Linked DNA regions of Homo sapiens: all the other regions are linked to region 3. The links are contacts of gene promoters, found by promoter capture Hi-C in blood cells and fetal thymus (Javierre and others, 2016). All regions are on one chromosome and are shown on one strand. The core of a region is centred on a gene start or on the middle of the fragment in contact, and the rest is flanking DNA. Distances in the headings are between cores, read along the strand shown.

Region 1 (5,577 bases), core at 1,917-4,416, 590 kb after region 3:
GACTTGACGGAAAGGAGAGTAGGGGACCATTGACTGAAACTAGAAAATGAAGAGGTGGAGATGATTTTGTGCAGAATCCAGTGGAGGGTTTGAGAGGCCAGAAGGCTGTGTGCATGGAGATGTTCAGCCAGCAGCCTGGAGCTGTGGAAGGGAGCCATCAGGACTCTGGCTGGGGAAGGAGAGCCTGAGGACTCAGCCTGGCTCCTCCTTCTGCCTCACTCCCCCTCTTCACCAATTGGCAGGTTTGCTAATTCTACCTTTTATGTATTCTTAAATCTTTTCCTTCCTGCCTACTACTTGCAACCATATGTCCTCATAATCTCTTCCTTAGATGACTGCCTTCTCACAGGTCTCCCCTGCCAGCCTCTGCTCCTCTTAGATTCACCCTTCACACCATCACCAGTCACTTGCCTGAAATGAAATTCTCAGGATCTCCTTTGCCTTCTCAAAGCCTGTCCCATGCTGGAATCCCTCTCATTCTTCAAGACTCAGCACAGGCATCCTGTCCTCCAGAAGGTGGTCCCTGAAGTTCCCAGGCTCAGCCAGGAGGGCCCTGTGCACTTAAAGGTCATTAAGTGTCCTGTGTGACCACACCAAACTGCAATTGCCTAGCGGTTATTATGTCTTCCTCCCCTGTAGCCAACCCCTCAGAGCTGCAACCATACCTGGACGTCTCTCTCCTCAGCACCTATCCCAGTCCCTGGAGCATACAGGCATTCAGTTCTTCTTGGGAGGGAGAGAGAAAGGATGGAGGACGAGATACTAATCTTGAAACATGTCTGTATATGGTGGGGTAGCAGCCAAGTTTCCCATATCCTACTTGAGGGGGGCTTGGCTTCCTGCTGAGTCAGGAGAACTCAGGGCTAACTCCTGGCTTTGTCACCACCTAGCTGTCTGACCTTGATCAGGCTGTCTAACCTCTATGGGCCTCGGGTTTCTCATCTAATAAAGGGGTTGGGCCAGATGAACTCCACAGTTCCTTCAGCTCTGATTCTAAGGGCACCATAGGTCTCCTGACCATAGGGGTCTTGGCTGCGTCTCTGCACCCAGGGAATCACCTCCCAGAGCCTCTAGCATTTTCCCTGCCCTGAACCTACCTCCCTGGTCCCCTGACTTCCTTCTCCCTGAGCTGGAGAAGCCCATGGCAGCCTCATTAAGTGGCACTGACTGTCACAGCCTTGCCCATGGAGACTACCAAACAGTTTTCAATGGAAATTAAACATACTTGGCTTCTCTTCTAAGTTTAACCAGCTATTTTCTGGAGCCATGATTACTTTCTCATTAAGAGCAGAAGTCCAGATGGCCAGGTCTTTGGATCTTCTTTATTGTCTTCTTTAAAAGCTCATTAAATTCCTCTTCCCACCCACTGCTAGAGAGGAGTCCACCAGGCCTCTGGGAAGCCCAGTCCCTCCTCCCATAAGCAGCCCCTCCTCCCTGCCAAAACTGGGCAGCAACCTCTATGAATAATGAAGCCCTGCTGACCTCAAACCAGGCCACCTTTCCTTGGACCTGTGCCACTTGTGGAGACAGGAGATGAAGGACACAGTCTCTCTCCTCACGTTTCTCATGGTTTCTTTAAAAATGCAAGAAATAGCTATTGACGAAGATTGAGATAAGTTGCAGAATACACATCCCACTCCTGAATCATTCTTTTATCTCCCAACAGAATAACCCCCACTGGATAGGGACCTCGTCTTGCTCACTCACCAGTGGATTCCCTCCTCTTGTACATACCAGGCATTCAATATATCTGTTGAACGAATAAATAAATGTCATCTTCCTTGTCATATCCCCAGCTCCTAGAACAGCCTTTGAATCAACAAATTCTTGCTAAAAAATGAATGAATAATGAATGAATGAATGAATGACTTGCACAATGCTTTGAAAGATGAAGAGGAGTTAACCAGAAATGAAACAAAAAAGGAAAGGGGCAAGCAATCCCAAGAGCACAGAGGATAGCATTTGCAAAGGCAGAAGGAAGTGTGGAGCTTCCAGGGAACAGTGGCTTGTTGGAAGTGGCCCAACATTCTATCTGAAAAATGAGTTTAATCGAAGATTTACAGGAAAGTGGCAGAGGACAACCTAGCTTTTCTCACTTCTTTCCCTTCTACCATCAGCTTATCTCCTTTAGATCATTAACAAAGTCACAGGGACTTCATATTTCCACAATATTAACCTCAATCTTTGTTTGCAAGCAACAGAAACTTCAAACTCCTCAAGCTAAAAAGTAAGCAGGTGTCGGAGATGGTTCTTGCTATTTATCTATGTTTCTATGTATACATGTGTGTATGTCTGTATTTATATCTATCTCTCTCTAATCTTGAGTTTACTTCCTTCTGAAGTAACCTCATTCTCTCCCACCTAAACAGCTTCCTCTTTGCAACCAGGGGAACAGGTTTGCATGGCCCCCACAGTGTTGGAAGCACTCATATAACATCCAAATAAAAATACTAGGAGAGGGCAGGATGTAGTGGCTCAGCCTGTAATCCCAACATCTTGGGAGGCTGAGGCAACCAGATCAGTTGAGGTCAGGAGTTCTAGACCAGCCTGGCCAATATGGTGGAATCCCATCTCTACTAAAAATACAAAAATTAGCCAGGTGTGGTGGTGTGCACCTGTAATCCCAGCTGCTTGGGAGTATGAGGCATGAGAATCGCTTGAACCTGGGAGGCAGAGGTTGCAGTGAGCCGAGATCACACCAGTGCACTCCAGCCTGGGTGACGGAGTGAGACTCTGTCAAAAAAAAAAAAAAAAAAAAAAAAAGCCCAGGAGAGGATTTTGATTGGTTCTGGTTGATCATATGCCCACTCCAGATCAATCTCTGCAAATATTGGCCAGCCTGGGTCATGTGCCTTCCCATGATGGACAGTACTGTGACTGACAGACTCAAGAGAAAGAGAGGAGTGTTCCCCCGAAGGAAGAGATGCAAGAGATGCTGGGGAAAAATAAAACCACAGATCCCACCACATCAGCCATGCACACATCCCAAGCAGCCAGGTGCCATGTTGGGACACATTGTAGTCATGTCCAGCTGTCCTTATTCAGCAGAGGAGGAGGTAAGCTTTGTATATGTACTTTTTGTCTTACACTAGCCTCTTCTCTGGGGCTCAGTTTCTTCATCTGTAAAGTGAGTATGCTGGGCTAAATTCATCTTTAAAAGTCCCTTCCAAATAGGACAGTCTGGTATTTCTCAGAAGTTTACATTTCAAGGCTTGCTAACTTATCTTGGATAATGGAAACGTCTGTTTCCTTGATTGATTAATTCATGAGGTAAGCTTGGATATTTTATCTTTCTTGTTCTTAGTCATTTCAAAAACACTGGATGTAAGTTCAGCAAAGGAATCCAATCTCTTTCCCAAAGTAAATTTTTTTGTCTCATTCAGAATTGGGTAATTTGGATCATCCTCTTTGGAAGAATGAGATATTTGAGATGAAGTACTTTAGATCCATCCCAATTTTTAGTTCTTCGGCCCCAAATTTTATTATTTTGAATTGATCCTGGGAGCTATGGAAAGGGAAATCATTCCTCCTTAAGGTTATCTGAAACCCACTTGACTTTAGTAGAGAATATTTCAGGTTAGTGTCTGTAAGCCTGAAACTACTGTTGTTATTTTATATTTACTGAGCACCATGATGTCCTTGTAAGGTGCAGAGAAATCAGAAACACAGATCCATTAGCCATTCACAGTGCTGTGGGACTGTGTGCCTTTTCCGAGCACATCCATCTGCTCCTGCACCCCTAAAAACCCTGGCCAGAAGCAGGACAGATCCAGAAAACAGGGCACAAAGAAGGACTATGATGTACTCATAGTTAACAGCTAGTTGGGCATGCTAGAATATGAAATCCAAGTGTCTGAATTCCAGTTTAGCTCCCCTTCGATATAATCATCCCATCTCCCCTTCTCCTCCAACCACATTCAAAGCCTCCTTCTCCCAGACCCAGAACCAAGCCCCAACCCTCCCTCACCCAGCTCCCAAGGCTTGTTGATAATGTCATGACCCTGGCCACTGGCCTCACTGAACCTTTCAATCTTGCCTCCCACAAGCATCTTGAGTTGGCACTGTGACTTCCAGGCACCTATGCTATTTGCAGAGAATGCCCTTTCCTTAATCCAAGCCCAATAATCTAAATGTTTGACTCCCTGAAGGACCGTCTAACACAACCAAGCCTTTGTTTGATGGTGGAGCCTGCCTCCCCTCATACCCGTCAGCTGTCTGAGGCCCACGCCCACAGCCCCACTCACCTGCACACAACGGAAGACCTGTGCCTGTCTTCTACAGCTGCGAGAGGGCCACAGAGGATGTGGGCACTGTCCACTGGCCCCGGGGGCTGAGGGAGTCTTCGGAGCCCGGCTGGCATTACTCGCGACTTCTGCAGCTGGTAGGATCCTGGGTTGCGGAGGCAGCACCTGCGTGGTATATCTTAGATCACTGGCTCAGGTAGCAAGTGATTCAACTTCTCCCCAAACCCCCTGCCACCCCTCCAGAGGAACCCTGTTCCTCAGAGATCATGGGTTTCTTTGATGGGCTTGAGTGGCTAAGGTCTGACATGGTGAACAAAACCTAACTTGAGAAGAACCTCAACTGTCTTCCTGATCATTTTCCCAAATAGTCTAGTACAAACCATATCCAGCAAGCCACTTCTTCTTGTATTCTTTCACTCATAAAAATATTTATTGGAGGCCAGGTGCGGTGGCTCATGCCTGTAATCCCAGCATTTTGGGACGCCAGTGCGGGTGGATCATGAGGTCAAGAGATCGAGACCATCCTGGCTAACACAGCAAAACTGCGTCTCTGCTAAAAATACAAAAAATTAGCTGGGTGTGGTGGTAGGCGCCTGTAGTCCCAGCTACTCGGGAGGCTGAGGCAGGAGAATGGCGTGAACCTGGGAGGCGGAGCTTGCAGTGAGCCAAGATCACGCCACTGCACTCTAGCCTGGGCAACAGAGCGAGACTCTGTCTCAAAAAAAAATATATATATATATATGTGTATATGTATATACACATATATATACACACACATATATATACACACACATATATATACACACACGTATATATACACATATATATATACACACACACATATATATACACACACACAAATATATATACACACACACACATATATATATATATAGGAGGTCGGGAGCAGTGGCTCATGCCTGTAATCCCAGCACTTTGGGAGGCTGAGGTGGGTGGATCATGAAGTCAGGAGATCAAGACCATCCTGGCCAACATTATGAAACCCTGTCTTTACTAAAAATACAAAAATTAGGCGAGCATGGTGGTGCACGCCTGTAGTCCCAGCTACTCAGGAGGCCGAGGCAGAAGAATCACTTGAACTCTGGAGGCAGAGGTTGCAGTGAGCCGAGATTGCGCCACTGCACTCCAGCCTGGGCGACAGAGCCAGACTCCATCTCAAAAAAACAAAAACAAAAACAAAACAAAACAAACAAACAAAAAATTTACTGGATTTCACTATATTTTTGGAACATTAAAGAAGCTGACATGCTTTTCTAGAACACTCACTTTCCCCATGCCTCAAAGCCCATGATAAACGCTCCCTCATTCAGGA
Region 2 (5,631 bases), core at 1,882-4,381, 640 kb after region 3:
GAAAAATGGAACAAAATGTATATAGCTGTTGGCGATACGAGCCTTGTGGCTCAAATTGCATACCAAACATGGGATGGAGTAAGGCTGATGGCTAGAGGTAATCACCTCTAAGAGAAATGAACTGGAAATGATTTATAATCTACCCTACAAGGATATAATGCTAGGTTCCATTTCAGAGTAGTCACAGCTTTCCCTATGGAAGGCCCAATGGGAGGTTCATATTGCAACATTACAGTTTCTCCCTTACTCCATTTTTCAGAAGTATTAAGTAAGCAATCTCCACAATGTATTATATGACCTTTTTACCTGGTCCCACTGATTAGTCTTTATGCAGAGAACTCACTGAGAAAGTACACTGGCTTCACCTTTGGTTTAAATAAAAAAGACATTGTTAAGAAGGAAAAAAAATCAAGTCATCTTGATCATTTGTCACTAAATGAAACAAGAGAAAGCAATGAGCAAAGACTGTTTTCACCATAAATGCATTTGCTTCATAACCACTTAGGTCACTTAGAGTGTTTTGTGAAGGCAGCATAATCAGAATGCCACAATACTCGGATGCATCTTCCCAAAAGAGCCTCTAACCCCCAAAACCAAGAAAGGCGAGCTTCCTTTAATTAGAAGGCTATCCAAACTCCTATTCCCCACTCCACTACTAAATGAATTTTGTTTCTTGTCTATCCAGAGACAACAGAAATCTGGTTCGCAGGAATGCTCAGTAATCTTTCCCTGGCCTGAGGTGTTGCAGGGTGGTGCAGTGCTGCATTTGAAGGGGGAACTGTGGATTTCCATTTTTGATGGGACAGTTTTAAACAAGGTCAATTCTAACACAGCATGCTCCAGATTCCTACGATAACTACGCCAGTCAGAACGTGGTTGTTCATCACCATACTTAAAGCCTCCCATTAGAAAGCCTGCTTAGTATTAGGATGTCTATTAACCACACACAGTTTACCTTTTCTTTTTAAATACCTACCAACAGATTGTTTAGCAAGTCATAGCTCATCCTTCTCCATCATTTCAAATGCTTCTATATCTTCATTCCAGTCTGCTAATATGGAGTCTATAGGCTGGACCTTTTTACCCCAGCTAACATTAGGATTGGAATCTTCCTCAGTTTCTGATTGTTCTTGAAGCTGGTTATCTAAATCTGTACATTCACCATTAAGATTTGTAGTCTCATGGTTTTCTGTGGGATTAGAAGTCTGTTCAGAAGGGGAAATGCTTGCAGCATTGTCCATATCTGCTAGAGATAATGATTCTGGGTGAGAATTTAGAGAATTTTCCTCAGAAGACTCTTGATCAACCAAATCAACCTCCTGAGAACTTGATGAAATCTGTTCACCACTCTGATTCTGAGAATCATTTTCAGAGGATGGTTGTTCTTCATTTTCCATTTCAGGATCTGTATGAGAAAGAAACAAACCTCATGCTACTTCTCTAAAAAAATGTACTATTACACTTTCCAAAGCATATTGGTTTTTGCAACAAGATGAAATAAAACGTGAAAGAGACTCATGTTAATGCAGAAAGGTGAGCATCAGCACTGAAATGAAGACTGTCTTTATGCAGTCACATTTTCCTATAGATTCACTGTGCAAAATGTGTCAGTGTTAGAAAATAAACGTTCTTCCAAATTGGAAGGAATGACAATAACTAAGACTGACATCAGTGGACATTAGTAAGCCAAGAAGTACGCTAACCAATAATAATATTAAAATATATAGAGATTTGCAATGTATGGCTAAAATGTATTAGATACCTAAAGCTTATGCATAAGAACATATTAAACAGAATCAATTTTAAACAGCATATATCATTGCTATATTTTCAAATAATATTCCTTTGAAAAGTGAAATTCCTACTCAGTAAGTCATAAAGAAGCAGATAACATAGATTTTTTTGAATGACTAAGGGTATTAATGTGACTGATCAGAAATACTTTCACAAGACAAGAACTGAGATTATTCATAAAATTCTATTATTTTAGGCCTATGAATTATAAGATATAGTCATTTTAAAATCCACTGGAAGGCTGAAGAGTGAGTTAAACCTCTTATAATGAATATACAGTGAAACCAGTAGAGGCATTTTATTTAGGGTTCCTACAAGAAAGTGCTTAAATAGCATCGACGCCTACATGCTACATCCTGTTCAGTCTCTGCCTCTGTGATGCAGTTGGCCAGCAAATATCCTCCAAGTCATCATTTGCATAGTGCTAGGGATAAAATGAGGAGCAATACCAAATGCTATACCTGCCCTTATGGGTCTTATAGTCCAACGGGAGAAAAAGATATTATACAAATAATCACGGAAAATAAATAGAAAACTCAACTGTGACACGTTATGAAAGAGAGATAAGGATTTTGGATGCTCAAGTCCCTTATGTAAAATGACACAGTATTTGCATATAACTGACACACATCCTCCCATGTACTTTAAATCATCTCTTGATTACTTTATAATACCTAATACAACGTAAATGTTATGCAAATCATTGGTATACTGTATTGTTTGGAGAATAATGACAAGAAAAAAAATCTCTGTATGTTCAATACAGATGCTTTTTTCTTCTTGAATATTTCCTATCCACAGTTGGTTGAATCCATGGGTGCAGAACCCACAGATACAGAGGGAGAACTGTAAGGAGATTTGAGAAGTTTCTTCAAAAAGTTCCTTCAGAAAGTGACACTTGAGCTGGGGTTTAAAGTATAAGATAATGTCAAAGAAGGGAGGGAAGAGGATTTATTTAAAAACCAGAAAAAACAAAGGAAATGTAGACATGCAGGAAGGTGTGGTGGGTATTGCTGGGGCACAGAAAACAATTCCCCAAAATATGGTGCTTCAGCATGATGAATGCTTGGAAAACTGAAAGGTCTCAGAAATAAGCCTCAGAACCAGTCTGTCTCTGACCTTCCCCTGCCTCCCTGTCTCTCTGATCCTCTTTCCTGAAGCAACTGGGGGGATTCTCTCTGGAATTTTCTTATCTAAGGAAGCTTCTTTCCAAATGAAATGCAATTGTCTCAAGAATCCCTCCCTAGGACTCTCATCAAATAACGAGAAAAAAAATGAGCCATCAGAGAAGAGTAGAGACAGGGGTCCTCACCACACCCAAACAGACTTTTCTTCTGTTCTTCTGAGGACAGCTGAGAGATTAACTGGGGGACTTTATCTAGATACTATGCAAAGAGAATCCTTTACCAATCATTGTCTAAGCACTGGACCTCTTCATTCCCTAGTATTCCTCTACCCTAAGAAGAGGGTATTTAAGCTTCAACCACCTGTCCCCTTTCATATTTTGTATGGCTCCTGTGCACACACGTACACATAATAAAATTATTATGCTTTTCTGTTGTTAACCTGTTTTTGTTTTTTTTTAACCCGGGGTGTCCGCTGTAACCCTTTATGATGGGGAGGAAAGGATCACCCCTTTCTGCCCCTACAATGCATATATGTTCACCCTGATTAGATGGGATTACTTGACTCTGAAAGTTTACATTCTTAGGGTTTTTTTTCCGGAGGGGAGGATCAGCAGGGGGTGGATTGAGGAATTCCACACAATCTCTGTCTTCTAAGCTGTGAAAAAGGTACAATTTAATTAGGCAATTAGGGAAACCAATGGTGCAGACCAAAGAAAGAAGGTAGCTGGCTACTTACAGCTTATTTATCCTAGGTTCCCTAAATTCAAGAGAGAACAAAAAGAAAAATCTCCAAGTTTCTTTCTAGATTGTATTATTCCAGATTAGAAGGAGAGGAAAAGGTGTAGGGTTGTTTTACCTGGTAATGAAGATTGTGCTTGTGATAAAAAACTCTCCTAGGGTTACATATACGATATTATTTTGGAAATCTAGCTGATGTAATCGGACAAGAAAGTAGAATAATCAATGTAAATATAGAAAAAGATCAAATTATTTGTATTTTCAGATTGTGATCGTACACTGTCAAAGCAACTTTAATAAAAAAATACTATTAGAATTGATAAAAAAAATTTGGTAAGAAGACTATGCAAATACCAATAACTCCTTTGTAGTAACAATAAATAGTTAAAATATAATCATTAAACCTTTTCATAATAAAAAGCTACAAAACATAGAATTAAATTTATTATAAAAGGTATAAGACCCACGTTGCTTAAATAAAATCATAATGAGAACATAAAACAAGATTTGATTAAATTTATAGGTATATTCTTAAATGAAGTCTTAATATTTAACATTTTCCTAATTTATATGTAAAGTATGCAATTATATAATTTCAAAATGAATCTCATTTGTACTTCTTGTTTTCGTTTTAGAACCAGATACAATTAATTTAAAGTTTCTATGGAACAGCATATGTCAAAGAGAAGCCAAGAAATTCTAAGAATCAGTGAGGGGAGAGTTGCCCTATCAGATAATAAAATATACTCAAAACAGCAAACTTTTATTATTGGCAAAGGAATAAACACATTAGTAGAAGAGAAGGGTAAGTCTAGAAGCAGATCCAACTATGCAAGAATATTTGATATATAGCAAAGATGGTAGTTTAACTGAAGGAGAAATGAGTGGTTTGCTTCATAAATGGTATTTAGTAACTGACAACTCAATTGGAAAGACTCCTAACTTTTATTTTAAAATTCCATATGATTTAGAGACCAAAATGTAAAAAATGGTAAAAATGCCAGAAGAATTTAGGAAAATATTATGTAAAAACAGGATGGAGTGATCTTCTGAAGTGAGACAGAAGACCCAGGAGCCTCAAAGGAATTAATATTTCTGATTACCTAAAAATGTTATGAAAGTTACATAAACAAAGTGAAAAGATGACATGTTGGGAAAATTGTGTGTGTGTGTGTGTAACCTCTGTCCCTATATGTGTGTCTTTTCTAGATAATTTATAGAACCTCTATTTCTTTATGAGTATGTATGTAAATATAGGAAATGCGCACACACACAAACAGAGAGGTCCTATAAAATATCTAGAAAAGACACAGAATCTTATTTAAAGAAGGCAAAATGCAAAACATATGACTAGGCAATCCATAAAGAGAAAAAACAAAAAATATACCTATAAAGGGAAATATGCTGACTAAAATAGGAAGAAACATGTACTCTCATATCTTGCTGGAAAGGATGTGAATTGCTACAACCTTTTTTGGAATGCAACTTGCAACATCCATTAAAATGAAAACGACCCATATACTTTCTGCCAGCATTTCATTTTAGTAAATCTCAATATTCTAGAAAAAGTATGCATATCTAAGAAGATATGTACGAGAATGTTACCTACACCATTGTATACAGTGGCAAAACAAAAACCTGGAAATAATTTGGACGCCTAATAGTGACATGGTTAAATAAATTATGGTACAGTGATAATGCAAAACATAATGCAGCTTTCAAAAGAATAAGTTATGCTATCCTACTAACTTGGAGGAATGTCTTTAATATAGCTTTAACTGTAAAAGGCAAGTTACTGAATGATACATATATTTAGAAATGTATAAAGCACTAAGAAGAATATAAAAGATTACACATCAAACTGCTAACATTGGTTGGTTATCTCAGAAAGATGAGAGATTATTTAAAAGTTTTTAATACACTTCTGGATTGTTTAATTTGTTACAAGTTTAATTTTATAAAGTTTTTAAAA
Region 3 (5,800 bases), core at 2,082-4,581:
CTTTACAATATTGAATCATTCTCTTTCTTGAATCTTTCTCTGTTCTTGAAACACAGAGAATAGGAAATTGTGTGTTTTGTGTACAAAAAAAGGAACAAGATATATGTGAACCTCCTTACAACCAATGAATGAAAAGCTGATCCAGAATGCTAGGCTACATTTTTCAGCTTGGAATCACTGTCTCATACAATACTGTGTAAAAGCTTTTCTTCTTCTTTTTTAAATTTTCTTTCCACACTAGAGATTCACATCACAATTTAGTGTTCGCATTTCCTCGAGACTCTTACTGAATTAATATGTCTCTGGCTAGACATTACAGATTTTTGTAGGAATAAAATGATCTGGCTCAGGATATCATTGGGAAATGAGTTCAGCAAGTGCCAGATTACAATGAATTTGATTAAATCCAATATACTCAGGGGGGATTTCATTCGTTGTTTCTTATCTAGCTTTTTTTTCTCACTACTTTGGTTCTCTAATAGAGTGAACTATTGAAGCATTTACAAAATGAGAAATCCTCCAGGATACCAGACACTGAAACTCTCCTCTGTTCTCTAGTGGATTTCACTCTAGATTGTCACAATAGGTATTTTGATTCTGTACTTTAAATACTGGGTTGTCTAAGTGTTCCCAAATCCTTTGTGTTCATTCTTAGCCATTCACAATCACCAAGACCTATTTAAAAATTTACATTAACAGGGAAGCTAACAGACACTCCCTTTTCATTCTTCAACTCTTTTGAAAAGCACGTAATACTCATTCTTGAATGTATCATGCTTTTTCTAAGCAACAGTATTTAATCTATTTGCCAAAGGATGGCATTTATCTGTTGCTTTTTTGGTTTATGGTTCTTTCCATACCCCCAATTATTTTTTCTTGAACATAAGCTGAAATTCTTCCCCTGCAGATGTTTGAGGCTGGTTCATATAGTCCCTAATCCCATTGGATATCCTTACTGATTTATAAAAGTTTCCCTCTACTCAGATTAGCATCAAAATACTCTTAATGCTTTTAAAAATGCCATCATATGAACTGATTTGGATCTTTAGGAGTCAGAGAGATTTATTCACTTCCAATCACTTGAATTCGTGTCAGTGTTTCATGCTTCAATGACCCAATTAATTTCAGTGCCATTTTCTTCTTTCGGGCTTAGCAGCTGCTTTGTGGTGGCAAAGGTTCATTCAAATGTAATGTATTTGAGGGCAACATATGAATCTTCATGTGTGGCTTTACATTTCATTCAATAATAGATGCCCTTCTTTTCCCTGTGTATGATGTGTTATTTCTTTTGATGCATTCAAGCTTTTCTCTTTATTTTTTTGACTTTCAATAGTTTTATTACAATGTAGACTTCTTTGTGTTTATTTTAGTTGCTATGTATTTAGCATTTTGTACTAGTAAATGTGTTTTTCATCAAATTTGGGGAAATTCTGGCCACCACTCTTTCTTCAAAAATTTTTTCTGTCCCTTTTTTTTTCTACTTCTGTTGTTTACATGCATGTTGGATTGTCTGACATGTAGCAAATCTCTGTTGGTCTACTCACTTTTTAAAGATAATTTTTCTCTTTGTTGTTTACTTTTAATAATTTCTATTGCTCTATCTTCAAGTTCCCTACTTTTTCTTTTGTAATTTTTTTTGGCTGTTAAATTCACCCAGTGAATTTTTTATTTCTAAAATTATAATTTTCAATTTTCAGAATTTCCATTTGGTTTTAAAAATCTTTTTTTTTCTTTTTCTTTGCTGAGATTTTCTATTTGTCTCCTGAGATTTTCATTCATTGAAAACATGTTTTACTTCATTGAGGATAGTTATAATAGTCACTTTAAAATCCTTATCTGTCAGTTTCAATATCTGATTCATCTCAGGGTTGATCTCTAGAGTATGCGATCCATTTCCTTGAATTTCATATGTCAGATAGTTTTGGATAGTACTCTGGACTTTGTGAGTGTTAAGTGGAGAGTCTGGATTCTATTATTCTTCTCTGATGAGTGTTATTTCCTTTGTATTAGTAGGTAATTTTCCCGGCTAGATTTTAACTGAAAACTCTCTCCCTTTTGGAGACAGCTCTGGTCTCAGTTCAGATCTTTTGTTTTTAACTGAGCTGCTGTGATTCTGTTTTGGGTGGTTCAGGATCTCTCAGAGATGTGGGTTGACAGTTTGGGGATCCACTCTCTGACTCCTTCCTTGGGATTTCTTAATCTCTTCAGAATTCAAAATTTTCTGTCTTCACTTTTCTGCTTCCCCAGACAAGAATAACTGATAAGTTTTATACATGCATCCCTGGTACTGCTGAGCCTGACTTCTGGACTGCACTTTGCCCCAAGCTAAATGCCAAAGAGAGGAGAATTTTCTTGTGGAGTTCTTGATCTTCAAGCAAGCTTGCCCTTCCTACCAGTCTGCTGTTCACATTCCAGTATATTCAGCTTTTTGTATTGTGTCCAAGTGTAGTTCCTGATCTTCAAGCAAGCTTGCCCTTCCTACCAGTCCACTATTCACATTCCAGTATATTCAGCTTTTTGCATTGTGTCCAAATTGTTTTCTGCTGGGGGATGGTCCACTAGGGTCTTAGTCTATCATGGTTGAAAACAGAAGTTATGTCCTGCCTGGGACTTTGGATTTTGAGTCACCCTTGTCCTGGTCAATGCGATAGCCTCCTAACCAGTCTCTGTTTGTGTCCTTGCTCCCTCCAGTCTATCCTCAACATATCAGTCAGAGTGATCCTATGAAAACGTCCAGGAGCCTCCAATAGCTTCCCATTTCACTCACAGTAAATTAAAAAATACTTAAAATGTGCTACTCTGCCTGTTTGAAACTCCTCATCCTTGGCTTCCAGATCACATGCTTATGCTAGTTTGTATCCTACCTTTCTGAACACTCGTTCAGCAACTCGTGTTTCCTCTAATCCTGAAACGTGGGTCCACCCTGAAAGTATGGTTCTACTTTAAAGTTCTATGTCAGGGCACTGAGTAAGGCCTTTCCCGTCCCCAGCAATCAGAAACCAGGACCCCACTGCTGAAGGCAAAGAGGACGTATGTATCCCCCAACTTTCTCAGAGAGTTATCGGCAGCACTGACTTAAAGAGGATTAAGAGCTTCAGGGCGCAGGCTACTCTTTAATATTTTTCACGTTAGAATTTGCTCAGATTTGAATAAACGCAGAGCGAAACTAGAGAGCGTTCGCGCAGGTTCTAGCTACCTTGGTCAGAAGGAGGGGCTGATGCAACTTTCCTCCCAGTTTCTGAGCCCTCTCGCACTGCAGCTGCGAGCCTCGGGGAAGCGGAACCCACAGGCGCGCGCGCCGCTGCTTCTGGCCGGGCGCGGGTCGTGGTGCACCACGGGAGCGCCGCACCGGCCGGCATGGAGGAGCGCGGCGATTCCGAGCCGACCCCCGGCTGCAGCGGCCTGGGTCCGGGCGGTGTTCGCGGCTTTGGCGACGGCGGTGGAGCTCCTTCGTGGGCCCCTGAGGACGCCTGGATGGGCACTCACCCTAAGGTCAGGAGGCGCGAGAGGAGCAGGGCGCCGTCCAGGCCCCTAACCCAGGCAGAACACTCCCAGGCAGCTCTCTTTCTTTCTTCCTCAGTGGGAGACTGAGGACGCGCGCCACCCTCACCGAGGGGGACCGGTGTGCACAACTGCCAGCCTCAGGCAGCATCGGTTTTGTTTGTTTAAACAAGTTGCACTATCTCAATCCCCCAGCCAAAGCCATTTTGGAACTGAGAGCCAGACAGTAACTCCGCCCCTCTCAAGCCGGAGATCCCTAATAAGCGCTCCACTAGTTTTGCTGTCTAGGTAAATCCCCTTTGGGGGATAAATTTATTTAATCCTCACGGTAACCATGCAAGACAATTTGTGGGCGATGGATAAGATCTAGGGGTCCATAGTGATAAAGATTTAAGCACAGTCACGTTTACACTTAGCCTTGGGCCCAGAATGCATCTTTATTTTGAAAAGGTGCAGATTCCTAATATTTCAGATTTCTTCGAAAGTTTGAATAGGTTCTTGCTCAAAGCAGAGCTACTCACATTTTGCGTGTATTTTTCTAGATTAGCAGCAGGCGAGATCAAGATAGTCCTCTGCTTACTTCTGCTTGAGACATTACTGCCTTGTACAAGTACGGTTCCAAGCAGTGAATAGACAGTGAATGGAGATGTGGGTTTTGTAAGAATCTCAAAAACTAGTCTCTACGGTACTTTAACAGAATTGCACTCTTCTGCTAGAGAGCAATAATTCATAATCATCTAAAAACAGCCAAGAAAAAATTTGAAGGTATAAGTTTGAAGAGTTAACCTTTTTCAGCTTCTCTTGCTTAATTTTATCTTCCTACTCTGTCCCCTTCATCCTCCCAAAAGGTGAGAAAAAGAAACAATAGCATGGAAATATTATTTAGTGCCCTTTTAGGGAAACAATAGCATGGAGAGGCAGCATATTGGTTAGGCGCATGAACTCAAAATCAGACTCAGTTTAAATCCTGATTCTGTCACTTATCAACCTTGTGATTTGGGACAAGTTGCTTGATCTTATTATGCCTTAGTTTCCTCACCTGAAAAATGGGGATATTAATAGTCCATACTTACTTATACGGTTGTTACAGGATTAAATTAATGAATATTTGTAAGCCATTCAACATACAGAAAGCACTATATAAGTACTTAATAAGCGAAACACCAGTAACAACTTTTTAAGACTTTATCTAGATTTGGTGGTGTTATTCAGTTTATATACTTGTAGATTGTTTTCTTTTTCAAGTTAATGGCTGTATACACCTTGACCATCAAATCTCCCCTTTTGATTTCTCTTCTTGAAGGATCAAATTAATTTTTAAAAGAAAAAGAACAAGTAATAAAATAATAGGGGGTATTTGTTTTTCCAATTTCACCTTTCTGTTAATTTAAAAATTATGTAGTTTCATCCAGTAAAATGGTACCAGATTTATTATCCCCAAACACACTTTTATTTTATTATTCTCCTGCTTAGAAATCCTCAGTGTTTCCATACTGATAAAATCACATGTTTAGCTTGACCACCAAAGCCTTGTAACCTGGCTCAAAATTATGTTTTGGGTGTTATTTTCAAAACATGTTTGAAGTCGACAACTAATTAACCCCTGTCCTCCTGAACCTGTACAGTTACAGTGAAGCTGATGGGAGAATGTGACTTTAGACCTGTCCCCATGCAGGTCTGCTAATAATTCAACTCAGCATTAGCCCTGCATATCCACCTAGTCGCTGGCATAGCTGGGCAGCCTCAGAATTCTCCTGCAGGTGTAGGCCCCTGAAAAGTATTCCCCTTATGCTGACCAGTAGTCTGAAAGAAGCAGCTTTCTCTAGTTCCTTGTCAATTCCTTTTAAAAAATCTACTCTTAAAGTGAGAAAGAGTGGGTAGAGAGGCTAGGACTGATACTCTAGCAGATTCTCTCCATATACAAATAAGAGGCTAGGGAAATACACAGTACCCACTAACATGTCCCATCACAAGTTTTATTAAAAAGGTTTCTCTATTGCTGGCAGATAGGTTTCTTTACAGGCCCTTGAATGTATGTGGCTTAATCCCACCTTTGTGTAATTACCTGCAGTATTACTCTACTTCTCCACTTACTTAAATCATAATGTTCTTCAGTGCTCAACTTGTATCCCATCCCACCTCTGCTATAAATCTTTCACCAGTCCCTCTGAGTAGAGCTCTTCTGACCTGCTGTGTCATGTTTTTTATTCCATTTACATGGTTTTTAATCACTTACAGTCATATATTGTTATTTGCCTAACAATTTTAAGTGTGCATGTATTTAACAATTGCAAGTTCT
Region 4 (5,388 bases), core at 1,119-3,618, 610 kb after region 3:
CATTTCCTGCAGGCTCCACCACTTTGAGAAAAAGCAAAGCTTTTGAATTATCCCTGCTAGTGGTGTGCTGGTAAAATCAGCTCTCTGAAAAGTACATACATACATAGAGAACAATATAGCATTTGCTGATTTCCAATTTTGGTGGTGTAAATGCTCATACCATAACAGATTTCAAGCTACCAGTGAAATTTCACAGGCTTTTACAACCAGCTTGTAAAGTTCCTGAGTATTTAACATTGGCTTTTGATATCCTGTAGGAGCTGGCTTCAGCAGCCACTGGCAGGGCTATCCTCCAATTCTCCAGGTCACCCCCAACCAGCACCCATCTTATTCTCTTAGCAATGTCCTTGACTAACATAATTTTGTCATGACAGCATTCACCATGGCCCACACTGTCTTAGAGACACATTGCCTATCTGATCTCATTTAATCCTCACAAAATCAACCATCTTTATCTCCATTTCACATATCATGGTTACTACTGGAGGCTTATCACCTTTCATCAGACCTGCACTACACATAAAACATAACACACTGCATTGTTGGGCAAAGCAGTGCAGCCCTCTTACAAGTATTTTTTTAACACAATAAAGTTCTTTCAAGTGTAAATTTATTTTTCCATGACAAAAATAATGAACCACTTTGCAAAGAAAATTGGAAGGCAACCATTAATTCTTAAATGTGTTAAGATTATTTGATGTCATGGTAAAATGTTTATGAAATATTACATTTTAAAAGTGTAGTATAGTAACCTACAATGTGATACCAATTCTGTAAAACAGTAAATGTATTAATGAAACACTCTAAGTAAAGGAAAAGTGAGTAGTTATCGCTCTTTTTTAGTATGTTTTAATTGATATATCATGGTTATATATATTTTTGGGGTACATGTGATATTTTGATACATGTATACAACATGTAATGATCAAGTCAGGGTAATTGGGATGTCTGTCACCTCAAACATTTATCTTTTTTTGTGTCATGAACATTATAATTCTTTCCTTGTAGTTGTTTTAAAATATACAATAAATTATTATTCATTATAATTTTTTAATTAAATATTTTTAAAATTTTTATTATTTTTATTTTTTTTAGAGACAGGATCTTGCTGGTCACCCAGACTGGAGTGCAATGGTGCAATCATAGTTCACTGCAGCCTCGAACTCTTGGGCTCAAGCAGTCCTCCTACCTCAGCCTCCAGAGTTGTTATCTATAATTTTGAACAGTAGTTATCTGTAACAGTGAGAAGCAAAGGTTTTCCTCATTTCCTCTTTTACAGTTTCTGTATTTTCCATAATTGATACATCATCACATATTACAATTATGATGAGAAAACATGATACATATTTTTATTTGGAAAATACATAAATAAAAACAAAATCTATGACCTCACCGTTCAGACTCAACATCTCTTCCATTTTGATGTCATGCGATGTTTCTGACGGAGGTTTAATTGAAATGAAACAGCATCAATAAGCATGGGCTCCACAGTCTTCCCACATCGCTCTGAGTGCCCGGGGAGGGACTGGGGACTCCCCCCACACATTAACCCACGAGGACCTCTCACATGGACCTTTTTACATTCTCTCTAATCTTTCCCAAAGCCTTGCAAGGTGGGAGTAATATTATTATTCCCATTTCAGAGATGACAAAACTAAGAAACTCGTCCTCTGTGAGTTTCTGTGCTATTAGGCTGTGTCTCATGTCCCCGTACAAAGTATCTTTGTATGGGAGGCCTAATGGTTAAGAGCATGGACTTCTGTCCGACAGAATTCATTAAGTTCCAGGCCAGACACACTGCCGCTCTCTGGGAATGTGTCCATGGGCTAGGGGTGGCACTGAGCTTCCATTCCATTTCTTATAAAATAATGACGACAAGATCGTTTTCCTTAAAGGGTGGCTGTGAGCCTTCAATTACACAGTGATGAAAAGACCTTAGCACAGTGCTGGGCAACGGCTAGCTACTTCAGAGGCACAGCTGAGACTTGCACAGAGGTACCTGGCTGCAAAGTCCGGCTCCTCTACACTCTGCAGAGCTGTTTTCCCCCTTCAGAGCTCCTCTCCTCCGGGAGGGCTTGCCTCGCCCCGGTCCAGGATCTCTGCCTTCGGTTGAAGCGCAGCGCCCCCAGCCGTCCGCAGGAGGGATCGACGCCTCTGTCTCCCCGAAGTGAGGGCGCTCGCTGCGGAGCTGGGGGTGGTCTCCTCTTCCCCCCATCGCGGCCCAGCAACCTGGGGGTCCGCGTGACTTCTCCCTGGCCGGGGGATGGAGGATGCGCTCTCCTCTGTCCCTTCAAGGCCTCTTCCTCGTCCCAGGTCGAGTCTCCTCCTTGCTGACCAGGCATCGCGAGCAGATGAATCCTCTGGGCGGTTGTCCCTGTCAGGCTGTCAGGACCTGATTTTCCCTGGTAAGCCTTCGTCAGGCAGGTGGCCTCGCCCAGGCCTCGGAAAATGTCAGGGCGCAAGCTGGGCACACGGCCCTCCCGCTGGCGAGCAGGCAGCGCGCGCGTTCTTTAGGATTTGGAACAGCCCTGCCAATTAGCTTGTACTCTGCCCACATGCGCAGGACTAAAAAGGAAGCAGGCCAGGCCCGAGCAAAATTAGACAATGGGCTCCCAGAACACCAAGGGCGAAGGCGGCCCGAGCACCTGCTGTTCTCGCCCCTCAGGGCTGAAATTGGGCATGGAGTTGGCGAGGGAGGCCTGGCAGGGAGGGAGGGGGTCTAGCTGTGCGTTTGCTACAGGGCCTTCTTCCTCCACGTTCCAGATGGGACTCAACGCGGGCTGCCCAGAGGAGGGGATGGGGAAGGGCCAAGCCCTGCGACTGGATTCTTTCCGGGCCACAGAGGGCGGGTGCTTACAGCTGGGGTCAGGCACACTTCCGTTCTGCCTGGAGGACAGGACAGGGTGGTGGCTTCTCCAGATCCAGTGCTGGCCGCTCAGAGCCCATGTGTGGAAGACAGTCTGGTGCAGGGGTTGAGGATGAAGACTTTTGGAGAGAGGCGCATGCGGGTTCTTGTCCCACGTTCCTTATTGACCCACTCTGCAACCTCGGTTACTTGAGAAAAGTTAAGATTCCTTTCTCCAAAAAGCAGAGACAATACAAATTTCTAACTTGTAAGGTACCCTGTGAGAATAAGAGGAAATGAAATGTGGAATCCATATAGTATCTGCTTATAGAGTTACTGAGTTCTATTTTGGGATGAAGAAAAATGTAAACCTTACAACGGGAATATTTTTATCTTTGAGGTTCACTAAAGCACCAGAAGGTATGAAGGCGGAGAGAGGAAACAGGGCAATGGAATGAACACTTCTCAAGAATCTCTCAGGTGCCACGGACTGAGCCAGGTGCCTTCCATGTGTTATCTCATTTTACAGGGCAGGTAACATTTCTGAAAGGTCAGGCAGCTAAAAAGCAGACAGCTTTCTGGCACATTAGAGAAACAAAAGAAATGTTGGAGACTGGAATGCCTGCTGTGTCAAGGCACCTAATTAGAAAACAACGTCAGAGTGAATTTGTCGTGCGAGTCTCCAGCTCTGCCAGAAGAACTAAAAGAAATGTGTCACCAGAGGAATCACAAAGTAAAGTCTATTATTGTTCTGGGGATTCTGGGGATTCGATGCACAAATCAGAGGTCTGACAGGGGATGGGGCATGTGTTACGTCTTAGTAATGTGCTAAATGGTAGTGCTTCCAGATTCCCCACAGAATCCTACTGCAGTCAGAGATCTTGATGTCGGTTGAACTTATCTATTTATAACGAGGAAACATTAAGGTAACTCAAACCAACAAAATAAAACAGGTTGACAGTGACTAAGCAACAACAGAGTGCTAGATTTATGTAGAGATTCTTTCTTTCAAGTTGCTGAGACATTTCACAAAGGAGAACCGTAGATTATCATCAACTTCCATTTGGGGACTTAGAAATCCACCAAAGACAAAGACAATGTTGGTATCATTCCTTCCAGCTCTTGGCTGAAACTGTTCTTTCCTATGTCACCAGTGAACTTCTACTGGCCAACGCCCAAAGAATACTTTCTCAGTTTTAGTTTAGAGACCTCTCTATTCCACTTGCATGGTTAGACACTAACTGCTGGAAACTTCCAATCTGAAACACTCCCTGGGAAATGTCTTATTTGCAAATTTTACAGCTAAAATCCCTCCTCCATAGACAATCTATTAATAAACAGTACCTGCAAATGGGGGACTCTCTGGGGGAAATTTTTTCACTGCAATTGGTGTCAGCATTATATTATAATTAATCCATCTTTATCTAAGATAAAGTTGTAGGTTCAGATAAATAATGTCCCTCTCCCTTTAACACTTGTTATACTTGTGCTAGGCCTATTTGTGGCCACACCTGGGATTGAGTGGTTGAGATGAGATGCAAAAGAGATTATCTAAACTTCTGGGTGATTTTTTGCTGAATGAATGTCTTTTAAAGCACCATTTCTGATCCCATTTGGCTTCTCTCTAGCCTCTATCGATTAATTGTTGATTTAAATTGGAAGAGAGGCTATATGGAGTCTAGAACTTTACTTAGTTCATTGTTATTTCCCCAGGACCTCGAAAAGTGCCTGGGATATAACTCACAAATATGTGTCGAATGAATGAGTAGTTCTATCTGTTTCATGTCTGGGTCAATGTAGGCTGTATCCACATGTTCCTGGTAGGGGAAGTAATAGTAACAAAGATTTTGGCTAAGCTTCAGAGGCCATGAATTAATAGATTTTGGAAGAGGTCACTTTAGGATTTATCAGCTTCAAATCTTATATAAACTTCTTACTGGATCCAAAAGACTCCACTATTTATGGGAGACTCATGGTTTGGCCATTACAATGGTGAATGAGGTAAGGTTTTGGGACATACGTAACCAGGCCTGAATTGGTTGAATATGAACTTGAAAGTTCAAATTCAGACTAACATCTTTCTTTTGTCAGCTCTTCAATCTCAGCACTTGTCAACTTAAATAACAAACAGAAGAGGGGCTCTCTAAAATAAAAATGATATGTACTCAGGAGTAAGGCATTGCAATGGAAATATGTGTGCCATAGTAAACTATGTGCATACTAAGAGAGGTAAAGAAAGACAAAAATTTTTAAAGGAAAAATGAGATGGATTACATAATTGTTTGGAGATAATTATCCTTGCTACAAAGATCAATAGAAAGGGTGATGCCAGTACAAGGTTGGACAAGCAATTACTGGGCAGATGTCTTTACAGAAGTATTTGTGTGTGTGTGTGTGTGTGTGTGTGTGTGTGTGTGTATAAGATTGTGTGGCCTTCATGCAAGGTTGTGGTTTTTACAGTCTTTTGTGATATTTTTTGTTATCAGGTACACAAGCAAGCGAACCCACTCTTCATAGCCTTCCCCAACCCTATTTGTCAAGTG

What was found. Contacts are between HindIII fragments. The CHiCAGO score rates a contact against its expected background, and 5 or more counts as called.
Region 1: a fragment that was not itself captured here is called in contact with the fragment with the promoter of TSEN15 in region 3 in 2 of 17 cell types (M1 macrophages and megakaryocytes); the score reaches 5.3 in M1 macrophages.
Region 2: a contact is called between a fragment that was not itself captured here and the fragment with the promoter of TSEN15 in region 3, in 1 of 17 cell types (erythroblasts). The highest score is 7.4, in erythroblasts.
Region 4: a fragment that was not itself captured here is called in contact with the fragment with the promoter of TSEN15 in region 3 in 3 of 17 cell types (erythroblasts, M2 macrophages and megakaryocytes); the score reaches 6.4 in erythroblasts.

What each region holds. Positions count from the first base shown.
Region 1 is chr1:184,640,616-184,646,192 of GRCh38, forward strand. No RefSeq gene overlaps it. Among named protein-coding and RNA genes, the nearest start is that of EDEM3, 110 kb to the right of the region's middle. The HindIII fragment of the contact is 214 bases long and covers 3,060-3,273 here.
Region 2 is chr1:184,693,068-184,698,698 of GRCh38, forward strand. It overlaps EDEM3 (ER degradation enhancing alpha-mannosidase like protein 3), which reads right to left. Exons shown (of 20, transcript NM_025191.4): 20 at 1-1,405. The coding sequence ends at 996. Among named protein-coding and RNA genes, the nearest start is that of EDEM3, 59 kb to the right of the region's middle. The HindIII fragment of the contact is 275 bases long and covers 2,995-3,269 here.
Region 3 is chr1:184,048,399-184,054,198 of GRCh38, forward strand. It overlaps TSEN15 (tRNA splicing endonuclease subunit 15), which reads left to right and starts at 3,332. Exons shown (of 5, transcript NM_052965.4): 1 at 3,332-3,492. The coding sequence starts at 3,358. RefSeq lists enhancers at 2,251-3,186, 2,939-3,048, 3,109-3,238, 3,117-3,411. The HindIII fragment of the contact is 4,301 bases long and covers 2,467-5,800 here.
Region 4 is chr1:184,662,024-184,667,411 of GRCh38, forward strand. It overlaps LOC105371648 (a long non-coding RNA gene), which reads left to right and starts at 2,319. Exons shown (of 3, transcript XR_007066768.1): 1 at 2,319-2,405; 2 at 3,246-3,578. The HindIII fragment of the contact is 4,662 bases long and covers 38-4,699 here.